Linked DNA regions of Homo sapiens: region 2 is linked to region 1. Evidence: promoter capture Hi-C in 16 types of primary human blood cells and fetal thymus (Javierre and others, 2016). All regions are on one chromosome and are shown on one strand. The core of a region is centred on a gene start or on the middle of the fragment in contact, and the rest is flanking DNA. Distances in the headings are between cores, read along the strand shown. Region 1 holds the start of ANGPTL7 (angiopoietin like 7). Region 2 has its middle 9.2 kb from the start of LINC01647.

Evidence for each region. The method cuts DNA at HindIII sites, captures the fragments that hold promoters and counts their contacts. A CHiCAGO score of 5 or more calls a contact.
Region 2: a fragment that was not itself captured here is called in contact with the fragment with the promoter of ANGPTL7 in region 1 in 1 of 17 cell types (M1 macrophages); the score reaches 5.0 in M1 macrophages.

Annotation. Positions count from the first base shown.
Region 1 is chr1:11,186,088-11,193,269 of GRCh38, reverse strand. ANGPTL7 (angiopoietin like 7) reads right to left here and starts at 3,915. Exons shown (of 5, transcript NM_021146.4): 1 at 3,315-3,915; 2 at 900-1,000. The coding sequence starts at 3,690. All of the region lies in intron 28 of MTOR (mechanistic target of rapamycin kinase), which reads left to right. RefSeq lists an enhancer at 3,062-3,562. The HindIII fragment of the contact is 1,155 bases long and covers 3,862-5,016 here.
Region 2 is chr1:11,615,408-11,622,072 of GRCh38, reverse strand. No RefSeq gene overlaps it. Among named protein-coding and RNA genes, the nearest start is that of LINC01647, 9.2 kb to the right of the region's middle. The HindIII fragment of the contact is 950 bases long and covers 3,097-4,046 here.

The sequences.
Region 1 (7,182 bases), core at 2,666-5,165:
GGTGCAATCTCGGCTCACTGCAACCTCCACCTCCTGAGTTCCAGTGATTCTCCTGCCTTCCTAGTAGCTGGGACCAGAGTGCCTGTCACCACACTGGGCTAATTTTTGTATTTTTAGTAGAGACTGGGTTTCAGCATGTTGGCCAGGCTGGTCTCAAAGTCCTGACCTCAGGTGATTGTTCCGCCCACCTCACCTCCCAAAAAACTTGGGATTACAGGTGTGAGCCACCATGCCTGGGTGAAAATCCAGATAATTTGATGCTGCCTTCGTGTTTTCTTTTCTCCTCCCCCAAGGAATAGCTGTTCTAGGACATGGCAAGAGATTTAAACTAAGTTATGTGGTGGTTATAAGAATGATCTGATCTATGTTAGAAGGCTTGTTGTTTGACTGATAATGATTTGAAGGGGCCAAACAGATGCCTGGGTTTGGAGTGCAGGGCATAAACTGAGTGTTTGCATAGCTCTGTGGTGTTTGGTGTGTTTGCTTGTGTTTGAGTTTTCCTTTTTTTTTTTTTTTTTTTTAATTGAAATGGAGTCTCACTTTGTCTCCCAGATTATAGTGCAGTGGCGTGATCTCGGCTCACTGCAACCTCTGCCTCCTGAGTTCAAGCAATCCTCCTGTGTAGCAGGGATTACAGGTGCCCACCACCATGCCTGGCTAATTTTTTTGTATTTTTAGTAGAGACAGGGTTTCACCATGTTGGCCAGGCTGGTCTTAAACTCCTGACCTGAAGTGATCCACCTGCCTCGGCCTCCCATAGTGCTGGGATTACAGGTGTGAGCCACTGCGCCCAGCCGAATTTTCCTTTCTTTAAACTGTGAATGGCCCTGTTGTTGTAGTCCCCTTGAGGGGGTGAAGGACAGGTATTAGGGCATGGCCAGTGACTGTAATGACCTCACCTCCAGTTCAGGGCTGCCCAGGAAGTCATCAGGAGGAAGCTTATACACTCCAGAGATGCGGTAGTTCTTCTGGTAGAGGGAAGAGCAGTCGTAGATGGCATCTACAAGAGAACAAACCACAGGGTGAGCATTTAGACCCAGTGGCTCCATCTGAGTTGAGTGTTTAGAGACTGAGCCTTTATTTCTACCCTGGGATTCTCAGTGGTGTTAATTACCCATCAGTGTCTGCATTTGGGAGAGGTGGATATGGGGAGATCCAGAGGGGGTGTATTTTGGCTTTACTAGCGGTGGAGCAGAGGGGTAGGGAAGCCCTTCACCTGGATAGCATTAGTGGGACGTTCCAACAGGTGGTTTCAGGTTAACTCTGAAATAAATTATTCTGCTATAGCTGGGCCATGAATTCTAGAAATGTTACAGTGTATGAGGGCCACGTAACAGATACTCCTGTCAGATAGATTCAGACTTCTTAGACAGCCGCCACTATAACAAATCAGTCGTGAATATCTCATAGAGTCTGGTTTTGTTGATGTTTCCTGGTTGGTTGTTTTTGTTGTTGTTCAGAGATGGTGGCTACTGCCACCTGAGACCATAATTAAGGGAGATAGATTTTATTATCACATATTTTCCCCTTCCATCCAGCTAGCACCTCAAAACACTCAGAAGAACCTTTGAGGCCTTCCTCCCAGAAGTTTTGTTAAAACAATGAAATGAGAGCATCAGACTGGCCAGTTTTTTTACTCTAGGGCCATGGAGCTGCTACTTTATGCAGGATTTAAGCTCTGTATTCTAAATATCAAAGAGCATAGTGGAAGAGACAGCCTTTTCTGATAGGATTCAGAGACTGCGGCCCTTACTATCCAAGAGAAGCTTCCTGCCTGCTATGTCTCGGGGTGCTTTTCTTGGTGACCACTGCACTGGGACCTTAGAGAGGAGCACCAAGATGGCAGATGGGAGTTGTCTGAGGCACATAGGTTCTCTTGCAGAGCACCTTGGGAAAGGGAGGTAGAGTACGTGTGCCTTCGCCATCACTATTCTTCATTTCGTCTTAGTGGTGAAAGCACCAACTTACTGCTTCCTCTAAGGGACTACCTACTTATAGAATATAAGGGTAACTGAGCACTTGGTCATAGAGAAGAAAAATAAGGAATGATGTCCTGGGCAAGAAGAGCAAGAGACCTGGTGGGAGAGCTGCACTTGACCCCAAGAACCTCCTTGCAGGATGGTGAGAAAGCCTCCTGTTTGGATGAGCAGGAAGTGGCACGGTCAGATTCCTCTGTCTGGCCTGGTCTTCCGCATGTCTGGTTTCATCTCACAGACCAAATCAGGACTCACTTGTCTGGAAAATGGCCTGAGAATACCTTTCTAATCCCAAACTGAGGGCCCGGAAGTCCATGCTTAGAAAGTGATTGATACATGTTGGTTCAGGTAACAGAATTTTCAAGCTTGGTTTCATGTTAAAACTTTTTCTTAATTTGAGCTGAGGTTAACCATTGACTTAGTCAGTAGAAGCTGATCATGTCTTTGTTCTTCATGTAGTTTATAATGGGACCAATGGTTTTTATATCAGCAAGAAATGACATGTCTATAGGATATGCTCCTTACAACTAATATTTTCCTGATAATTTCAGAAAACCAAATTTTTATCTCTAAACCGTAAATTCATGTTGGCCCACCTGAGCTGAGCTAACCAGAAATAAAAGTTATTTTGCAAAAGAAAGATTAAATTTATCTTATTTTTGGCCTATTAAGTCTATATTTCAGCATTGCATTTAAAAAATCCTGTATTCGGAGAAATTCATTTAAGACCATGGAAAAAAATAGACGTATCACAATTGAGGAACCTTAAGGAGCCGCATCCTTCCTGAACACAAAGGGACTCTTCACATGGTTATGTGTCTCTACACTTAACTCTGAGCCAATGAGAAGAGTTACGTTTACAGAGAGAGGACACAAAATTCCATTAATGCTCATTCCTGGTAAATCTTAGGAACACCAGAGAACTGTTTCTGGCAAAACTTTGCTTCCAGAGGAACAGCTGTTACAGTTTGGTGCTTCCTTGGAATTTCTTGAGATATAGCCTGTCAGCTCTTGGTGAGGAAGTAGCAGAGCTACACCAATCAGGAAGACTTGAACCCTGCTTCTAAGACTTGCTGGGTGACTTTGGGCAAACCATGTAGTATCTCAGCACTCCAAGATGGTAGGCTGAAACACTGTGTGGATAAAAGAGACCCGTGAAGGTGTTAGGTAAACTTACATAGCATTAGAAGTCAAAGGAAATACTGCATAAGCCTTTACTAAAGGGAAAGTGTACCCACAAAAGAGGCCCCAGTAGTGGTTCTGATGACCAGGATATGTAGAAGCAGTGCTGTAGATGGGGAGGCACTCCACGCTCCCTCAGGGGACTGGTCTCCTTACCTGCGGAGGTCTGAGTGACCGTCTGTGCTGCCTGCAGCTGCATGATGTCAATTTGGTTGTTCATCTCGGAGTACTTGCTCTCAGCATCTGTGAGCCGCGACTCCATGCGCTTGCTGTTGCTCTCCAGCTCCATCACCTGCATGACCACGCTGACCCAGTCCCTCTCCTGCTTCTTGTTCAGTTCACTCAGCAGGCTGCTAAGGTTGGCAACTTGGGCCTTGAGCTCCTTCACCTCCTCACAGCAGTTGGCCGCTTTGAGCTGTGGCTGTGCTGGTGTCTTGTGCTTAGAGAGCTTCTGCAGCCACGCTGGGTGGCTGACAAAGGCCACGATGAAAATGCAGAGCCAGGTCACAGCTGAGAGAGGCTTTTTCAGCATCTTTTGTGGGTTTGGGTGAGGAAGGCTCTTCCTTCAGGGGAGTCTGGAGATGCCCAGCTGAGGTCTGCAAAGCTGCAGCAGGCTGACTGAACCTTACGCTTTCACTCTGAGGGCCTCGCCACTTTGTTGTTTTCTCTCTTTCCTTGCTCTTTGCTAGCCTTTCTCAAAGCTTGAGTCTCTGACAGGGGAGCTGAATGGGTAGCCTATAGCTTTCCTTCCAAGCCCGAATGCTCCACAAGTCAGCATCTTAAATATTGTTTGCTGCCTGTACCTCCACCCCTACCATGGCTGCACCAGGCTTTAGCCCCTCCCAGCTCATCTGGGAGGGTCAGGTGCCTGTTGGGTGAAGTCAGCGGCAACTTAGGCCAGAGGAGGGGAGGAGGGAGATGGGGCGAGTCTTTCTTTCCTTGCCTGTACAGTCTCTGGGCTAAGACAAGAGGACTGTGAATTTGTGTGTTTCCAGTTTCGCCTATTAGATTATGCCCCTGCCAGCCACTGGCTCAACTCTATCAGCAAGCAGGACAGGGTCAGAAGAATTTCCAAATTCCGTTCAAAAGGTTATATAACCATGGGGTGAGCGTAAGGTAGGCGAAAGAGACGCTACTCACCCAGGGAGGCCTGTTAATGTAATCCATGCTGTTTATATGAGGATCTGGTATATTTTGACATCCTGCTGAATATGCTTTTATCTAGGCTGATTATTCCCATCTCTGATCATTATTTAGTATTTTATAAAATCCTTACTCAACCTGGATCTAACACTATCTCACATTTGAAATCTTCCAACTTAGAAAAGTTCTAGAAATAGAAGAATAGAGTAAATCTCTTAGGAAGCCAAAAAAAGACTTTGTAGCCACAGGGTTTGGACAGTTGTCTTTTTACATGCTTTCTCCTTCAACAAAGAGAGGGCCAGTATTAGCATATAACACTTGATATTTTGCAAGGAGGTGTCAGAAGATTACAACAGAGATGAAAACTCAGCAGTGCCAAGCATGTCTGGGATTGGTCACCCATGCTTCTGTCAGTTTCTAGGCAGGACAGAGAACAGGCCCATCCTTAGCCCGTGGTTCAAAACTTGGAAAATATATTAAAATATAGAGAAAAGAATCCCTGTCACCTAATAAATCCATATCTAGAGTCTCATTTCCCTCTTTCTTTGCTGGTATGGTTTGCAATTTGAAATTATTCCTCCTCTATTTGTATATGACTTTGTATCTAAAAAACATGAATATTGTAATTTTTCATGTACTATATATGAAGGACAATGCTCTTTTGAAAAGAAATGTGAAAAACATGGAGTTTCAGCAAACATCCTTAAAATAAGCTTTTCACTAAGAATCTATACAAAGGTTCCTCTGTCCTTAAAACAGTAACTCTGTCTTTGGAACATACGATTGCTGTTTCCATGTTATGGAGCCACTCAGGCAGTTACTTGTACTGTTGTAGTCAGCGTGGGTCCTTCCCACATAAGCCTGATGCCTGACAGCTCTCCTCCCATGCCATAATCCCCCAGAGCTCTTTTCCAGTCAGGGCTTCTAGCTCCTCAGAAAGTAATTTCTGTTCAGGCAGCTGGAGTTACTGAACAATTTTTTTTTTTCTCAGAATCAAAAAGCAGTGGAGGATCAGGTGGATCAGAGTTTGTTTTCTCACATACCCAGCCTCCTTTGCCTGCTAAAGGGTGAGGATGTTACTGATACCCTTATAGCAACTTGGCATTCTAATCAAAAGATTCTGTTGAGAATTGGCACTGTCTGCCAGTCTGCTCTCTTTTTGCAAATGTCTAGCCCAGCTGGGCACCACAGCCTTAGCTCCATAGCATTCATTTTAGTAACGAGACTCTGGCCCCAAATATTGGCATCCTACAAGGTCTGCTAAAAATAGGGATTTTCAAGTGGATCTCCTGGCCATCAAATGACACTGAGCTTAAACCACATGCCACAGAAGTGCTATGTACCATACAGTCATGTATAGCAGGGGTCCCTAATCCCCAGGCTGCAGACCTGTACTTGTCCATGGCCTGTTAGGAATAGGGCCATACAGCAGGAGGTGAGTGGCAGGTGAGTGAGCATTACCGCCTGAGCTCTGCCTCCTGTCAGATCGGTGGCAGCATTAGATCCTCACAGGAGTGTGAACCCTGTTGTGAACTGCACATGTGAGGGATCTAGGTTGCGTGCTCCTTGTGAGAATCTAAGTACTGCCTGAAGATCTGAGGTGGAACAGTTTTACCTCAAAACCATCCCCCATCTCCCCACCCCCACCCTGGTCCATAGAAAAATTGTCTTCCACGAAACCAGTCCCTAGTGCCAAAAAGATTGGGGACCACTGATGTATAGCATCCCACGTGACCCTGCTGCCTTGGAACTCTCATGTAACAGTGCAGCAGAGAAAGCACAAAAGAACAGTGGAACTTTGTGGAGTTCTAGCCAGCTTTTGTTTATTCTTCCCAGTAGCTCACCCAAACAGGAAAGTGTTATGAATTGATTCTTATATGTGGGCAGAAAATAAATTAATCATTCATATTTGTACCCCATGTAACAGTCCCTTTTAGGAAAGGTAGGAGGAGGTTCGTAAGTTTGTATTGGAAGCATCTAGCCTTTAGCATGAGTGTCTGGTCTTTGACATTTATTTTCTGGAAACTTATTTCTAACATAAGGCAATACTTGAAGACAGAAGACAGAAGCTCTTGAATTGCATAAGCTACCCAAATGTCAATACTCACCCCCCCTCCAGTTTTGAGGAAAAATAGCTAATTAAGGATATTTCTCATGCCAGAAGATTATCTATTTTCTAAAACATCCACAACCTTATGATGTCCTAGATTCTGAATATCTAAATGAAGGAAAAAGAAGTCCTTGTTTTGAGCACAGCTAAGCCAGTAGAGAAAACCATGAAGGATGTGGAGGACTAAAATGGTATTGCCTTCTCTGAAAGAGGCTTTTAAATCCTTCTTCTGCCTTTCAGTGAGCAGAGTGACCTTAAAAATGGGAATTAACTGACAAAATCTGGAAAACCTAGGTTGGATACTGTTTAGATTTTCCTTTTCTCCATTTTGCTGGTGTTGAAAGAGGGCTAGCTTGGTGCTCCTGGAAAAGGTGTTTATGAAAATTAAGCTTTTGTTCTTAATGAAAAAAGTCAGTGAGGTTGTACTCAACCTGGAGGTTCTCAAAAGACTTCACAGTGTTTGGGCCGCACTGCCTTGGGCTGGCACCAAGGTAGTCTGAGGGTCACAGGGCAGGGGAGCACCTAGGGGTGGTCTCTCCTTCTATCCAGAGAGGAGCATCAGATCCCATTTGCTTGAAAATGCCCCGTTGGAGAGACTGCTGCCCACTCTCAGCTTGTGGAATGAATACATCTCAGAAGAAGCTGCCTTGCTGTTAGTTTTAATTGTGTATCTCAAAGGAATATTTCACTTCTTCTGAAGTCTTTGAAAAAACCACAGCCTGCCATACTCTATACAGCCGTTGAATATCTGCCTTTTTTTTTTTTTTTTTT
Region 2 (6,665 bases), core at 2,322-4,821, 430 kb before region 1:
GGGATGCTCTTTCTTCTGTTGGGAAATAAGCAGAATACAGGCTCCACCTACCCCTGGAAGGACAGTGTAGCTGGGCCAGATGTGAAATGCAGGAGGTGGAACGAAGGGCCAGAATATCAGACAAGGAGGCTTAGGTGCAGCACAAAGCTAGGGCTCCTTGAGGCCCTGTGCCCAGGCAAAGGTGAGGGGGCTCAGACCTGGTTCTAGAGCTCAGGGACTGATGGAAGCATCAGGAATACTGGGAGGGCCAAACAGCCTTGGCCCGTGGTCAGGGAGCCCTCGGAAGTGAGAGCAGCCTCAGACATTGCAAAGAGAGACCCAGCATCTTGCCTCAGTTCCTTCATCCATAAAATGGGCACGGGAACAACCCCAGCCCTACCTCCCCGACAGGTAGGAAGGGGCATGCTGACCTTGTTGGCGGACAGGGCTTGATCACCGTTAGGCGTAGGACCAGGCAGACAGCAGCATTCCTAGCTCTCTGGGCCTCAGTATCCTCATCTGTAACTGACGGGTTAGAACCAAATGACCTCAAATAATCCTTTCAGCTTAGACATTTGCAGCGTTGGTGATTAAGCAGGGAAGGCTTCCTGGAGGAGTCAGTCTGTAGGAAAGGGAAGGGTCGAGCTTTCTGCAGATTTAGGCCCCAAATCCTGATTCCTGAAGAAGGAGATGAGAGTGAAGGAAGTATGAGGGAGGAGGCAGCATAGTGTAGAGGTTGACAACTCAGACACCCATAGGTGCAGAGCAAGTGACTTAAATGGGTGAGACAGACAGGGTGTAATATAACAGGGACTGGTGGGGGCTGTGGCAAATTGGAACAGCGCGTCCCACCTAAAGGGGCAGCCATTTCTCTGCTCCACTGATCATTGCCATGTAAGGGTGTTGATCACGGGTTGTCAGATGGATTCAGTCTTTGCAAGTGTTCCCAACTGTAAAATGGGCACAGTATTAATAATTGTCTTAGTGACTTGGTGTTAGGACTAAATGAGCTAAGAAATGCAAAGTGCCTATTAACAGAACAATGGCTGGCATATAGTGAGTGGCAATAACTTTGTACTGACAATTACTACGATTGTTGTTATTCTCTATTTGTACAAAAGACCAGATGTCTTCCTTCCCCGGCCCCCAACACACTCCTGGCAGGAAGATGGGGAGCATCTAATCATTTCAGTGCAGTTGTTTGGGGTCTCCAGGGCCATGGGCTTCCTTGGCTGCCTGTGGCCTTGTCTTGAATGGCTCCAGCAGATGAGAAATGTTTGTGATCCAGAGAGAAAGCAGACGCCGGAAATGCTGCTGCCAACAGAACGCTTTGAGTCACCTGGACTCACTTCATGGGGGTTTTATTTTCTTTTGGTAGGTTATTCTGAGCCCGGGACATGCACGTTTGCAGGAAGGATTTGTCAGGCTTCGTTGGGCTGAGAAAGTGGCCACTGAAAAGCTTGGGGAGAGGCGGAGTCACGTGGTGAGGCGTGGAACCAATGCCAGTTGAAAGGGCCCAATTGTGAGCCTTAAAGAGATTCCCAGTTGTGTCCAAGGACGAGGTGGGAGAAACTAGGAGCGGGAGTGACAGGAAAATTGTCTAGCCGGTCCTCTACAGCACATGCATTCTTAATTCAGCCAGGGCTGGCAGAAAGAGACAGTGTGCATGGGTGTGTGTGCATACAGGGTGTGCATGTGTGTGGCGGGCGCCTGTCTACCTCCTCCAAGACACACTCCTTGGTTAACCCCAGCTGGCCTGGATTATACCTTCTTCTGTCTTGACTTCCAGTTCTGGATCTTTGGAAAACGAGCTGCAAGTCTTAGGGCAAGGCATTTAACCTTGCTGTGCCTCAGTTTACCCATCTGAGGAGTAGGATGATAATTCCAGTTCTACTTGCTCCAAAGGCAATCTAATGGTAGTGTTCTAGAAGGACTGTCTTTGGGTTTGAATGCACCCTCTCTCATCTGCAGAGCCCTCTGTAATTTCAAGGCTTTTACACAATCACGTCTGATTCCAGATATGGTGAGGTCAACAGATTAGCAGACAGCTGACATTGAAAAGACAGTCTGTGGCCAGGCACAGTGGCTCACGCCTGTAATCCCAGCACTTTGGGAGGCTGAGGCGGGCAGATCACGTGAGGTCAGGAGTTCAAGAGCAGCCTAGCCAACATGGTGAAACCCCGTCCCTACTAAAAATACAAAAATTAGCTGGGCATGGTGGCGGGCTCCTGTAATCCCAGCTACTTGGGAGGCTGGGGCAGGAGAATCGCTTGAACCTGGGAGGCGGAGGTTGCAGTGAGCCGAGATTGCGCCATTGCACTCCAGCCTGGGTGACAGGAGCAAAACTCCGCCTCAAAAAAAAAAAAAAAAAAAAAAAGACAGATTATTACACTCACAGATCCCAAGAGGAGCGGGCTTGTCCAGCCATGAGGGGGCACATAGGGGCAGTCAGGAGGTAGAGGGAGGGGGAAATCGTGGGCAAGAACATTTATTGTGGTATCCATGAGAAGGAACGAATGAGGCAGAGCAAGCCGGCTTAGGGTTGGCTAGTTTGAATAATTTCAGTGCATTCTGGGCCACAAGGGCTGCCCCTAGTTGTCTGGTAGATGACCCTGGAGTGATCAGGGCAGGTGGATAGTGGTCCAAAGTGTGAGAGCCAATAAAGGAGGTAGTTGCTGGTATAGACTCTGGATTGGTTGGTTTGCATTTTCAAAGCAAATGGGCTCATGGGCAAGTTGGTTACTATCTCTAAGAATTTACCAGCTCTTAACCCTCCAGGGTCACAAAGCCCCAGATGTCAAAGTATCAGAACACAGAAAATAAAAGGCATGCTTGATAAAGGAGGGGTTGGTTGACTGGTCGAAGGTCACGCAGCTTGGGAGTGAAAGAGCCCAGGTGTTTTGACTCTCGGTCCAGGACATGCCCCTGTGATCTTCAGGTGGCTTCTCCCGAGATCCCATGCCTTCCTTATGGACAAGGGCCTCCCTAGACCGTCACAGGGGCTGAGGGCAATGAAATGTTCTGCTTCCCACTTTCTGCCCCCAAACAGGTGTGTCCCAGGACCCTAGTCAGCACTGTTTTGGTTGCAAGTGACAAAAACCCCACCTTAAACAAGCTTAAGTCAAAAAGTGAGTTTATTGGCTCACATAACTGGGTGCTCAGGGTTTCCCAGTTTCAGGAAAGGCTAGATCCAGGAGCCCAAATGCTATTGTCAGGACATCATCTGTTTTGCGTATCTGGAGTCTGCGTCCCTTCAGGTGTTCTCACAAAGCCTTTCTCCACGTGTTAGGGAAGAAGGCCAATGGTAGCCCCGAACCCCTATAACTCATTACCCAAAAGGAAGAGAGATCTTCCTTGCTGGGTTCAGGTGTCAAATCTCTGATTGATCTTCTTGGGTCAGGTGTTTTTTTTTTTTTTTTTGAAACAGAGTCTTGCTCTGTCGCCCAGGGTGGATTGCAGTGGTATGATCTTAGCTCACTGCAACCTCCGCCTCCCCGGGTTCAAGCGATTCTCCTGCCTCAGCCTCCTGAGCAGCTGGGATTACAGCCACGTGCTACCATGCCAAGCTAATTTTTGTATTTTTAGTAGAGACGGGGTTTCACCATATTGGCCAGGCTGGTCTCAAACTTCCGACCTCAGATGATCCATCTGTCTCGGCCTCCCAAAGTTCTGGGATTACAGGCGTGAGCCACCACACCCAACCCATGGTGTTCATTCTTGAGCCAATCAGTGTGATCAGGGGGATTAGAATTCTGGGCAGCCTGGCCTGATCTCACACCCACGAAGTGTGTGTGTGTGTATGTCTGTGTGTGTCTGTATGTGCATGAGTGTGTGTGTGTTCCCGTGACTATGTTTTGTAGAGCATTGTGACTAAGCCCTACCAGGACCTCATGGAATGGGGGAGAGACAGGCAGAAACAGGCAGTATCTGCCCCCAATTCAATGTTCTTCATTCCTATCCACCAATTTTCCACAAAGGTCTTGCTCTGTGCCAAGGACGACTTCCTGCCCTGAGCTGGAAGGACTTTCTTGCCATCTTCCCAAAATGTCTTAACAGAAGGGCAAGCTTCCTGGTCTAGGAGTTGGGACACTGGGGTTTGGGTCATAGCACTGTCACTGAGTCACTCTGTGACCCAGGACAAGCCCCCTAAGCCTCAGTGTTCCTGTCTGGACAATGGGTGGGCTAGACTAGAAGGTCTTTAAACTGCCTCCAAGTTTGACCCTCTGTGAGTGAAGTGCTTGCTCTGAGCAAAGAGAGGTTCCGAAGCCTGCTTGCCAGGATGATGTGGGTGGGAACAGGGCTGTTAAAATACAGATTCCTAGACCCTCCCCAGGACCAGTTGGATCACACTCTCTTCGGAGCAGGACCCTGGAAGCTATTATTTTTGAGGAGTGATTCCGTTGTAGCTGGTTCACAACCTGGTGCTTGGGAACTACGGCCTAAGAAATCTGGTCCCTTGAAAGGGACAATGAACGAACTGGCTCTTTGAGGCATCTGGGCTTGTTGGCTCTGCTAGCCTAAAGCTAACAGGGTGTGTCCTGCATACAGTTGGCAAGAGACAGTAGCTGCTGAGCCAGACTGGCCCAAGAGCCTCCTGGTGGTGACTGCCCTGTGTTCTCACGTAGCAGGTGGCCTCTATGGGGACCTGGCCCTGCCAGCTGGCAGAGCATCTCGGAGCTGAGAGCTCTTCCTGGGACACTGGCAGGAGGTCTCACTCCATGCTGTTGTTGGGGATGAGATTTGGGGAAGAGATGTGCGTGCTGGCTTGGGATGGGGACCGGAGGCTGTGGGGCAGGCTGCTTAAGTCTAGTGGGGAGGGGAGCAGGGTGTGGCCTTGGGCAAGTCAGGTCATCCTCTTTGGGGCATCTGTCCTCCCACCTGTCCAGTGGGTTTGTAGCTTGGACCTTCTGAGTCTGCTTTAGTCCGTCGAGAGGGCTCTGCGGGAGAGAGGGCCACACAGAGGGGTGCTGTGAGGGTGGGGGAGAAGGCAGCTTTGATGGAGGAGGGGCTCAGCTTGCAGGTGCCAGAGGGCAGGCCCCCAGCTGATCAGGCCAGATGAGTAGCAAACCAAGAGCTCAGGAAGGGAGGGGAGAATGGGGCAGAAACGCTTCTGCTGGACAGCTGGAGAGAACCACAGGATGCCCTGGGGCCCCCCCGTGCCACCGCGTGAGCAGAGGCGGCTCAAAGCATGGTCCCGGGGCTGCCCTTTCTGGATTCAAATCCCAGCTCTGCCCTCAATGGTGTGACCCTGGGCCAGCCACTCCCCTCTGTGCCCCAGTTTTCTCTCCTATCAAGTGGGGGATGCTAACAGCCCCTCCCTCAGGGGGTCCTCAGTGGGCACTTAGCAATTGTTGTTGCTGTTAGTATTAGTGAGGACTGTACCTGCTTGGGGTTATGGGCAGGCCGTGGAGGCTGAGCTGCTGACCAGCCATGTGACCTTGTTGCCTGACCTCCCTGTGCCTCAGTTTCCTCTCTTCTAAAAGGAGGAGAAAAGCATCTACTTCATTCCAGTGAGTCTGCTGAGTTACTCCAGGTGAAGGCTTAGCATGCTGCCCCGCCCATGGGAAGGACTCTACAAAGGACAGCTATTGTTGGTGTTATTATTTATAGAGTTGAACTGGGTTAGGCATGTCACACTTTCCAGGGTGGGTTGGAGGTAGGTTCTGAACCCTCCAGGCGGCTGTGGGTGACAGGGGATCCTTGGGGTCTGGCAGGGAACCGCTGGAGCAGGCGACCTGCAAATCCCCAGGCCCAGACACCTCCTCCTGGGGATCAGCAGAATTTGGTGTGCTTTCGGTGAACCATCAGCTTACCTGATATTTGTGCCCTAGAGTGAGGCAAGCTCTGGCCTTTGGTCTCAAGGTGTGTGTTCCAGTTTCAGTCCTTGGCCTTGGCCAGGACTTGCCTTTGGCTAGTCTGAGCCTCAGCTTCCAAATCTGTGGTGTGTGATTGTGATGTCTACTTCACCAGGATGCTGAGGGAGCAGAGGGCAGTGGGGAGAACGAGCACAGCAGAATCTGCCATGCAAACAAAAAGCGTTGGTGGCCGAGGTGCTCTGCCTGGCATGCAGTCAAAGAAACTTGAGTTTGCTTCCCAGCTCTGTCACCCACTGGCTGGGCAACCCCAGGGCAAGTTCATCAATCTCTCTGAGCACTATCTTCTCACTTTTACTAAAATATGGATGATGATGATGGTTATTATTATTATTGAGACGGGGGTCTCACTGTATTGCCCAGGCTGGAGTACAGTGGTGCAGTCTCAGCTCACTGTAACCTCTACCTCCCAGGTTCAAGCAGTCCTCCCTCCTCAGCCTCCCAAGTAGCTGGGACTACAAATTAGTCATGCACCATCATGCCTGACTAACTTTTTGTATTTTTAGTAGAGATGGAGTTTCGCCATGTTGCTCAGGCTGGTCTCGAACTCCTGGGCTCAAGCGATCCCCCGGCCTCGGCCTCCCAAAGTGTTGGGATGACAGGCGTGAGCCACTGTGCCTGGCTGAAATACAGATTATTTTGTGAGGCTTGCAGGTTATTACTGTGAGGCTAAAAATGAGATCCTATATGCCAAGTGTCTGGTGGCTAGAGTAGGGTGGGGCCAGGCTGGGCCACAGGGCTGGGCCATCAGCGTGGGAGAAAGCGCACCGTTCTTTCCTCTTTCTCCCCTCCTGCCTCAAATCCTCTCTCTTC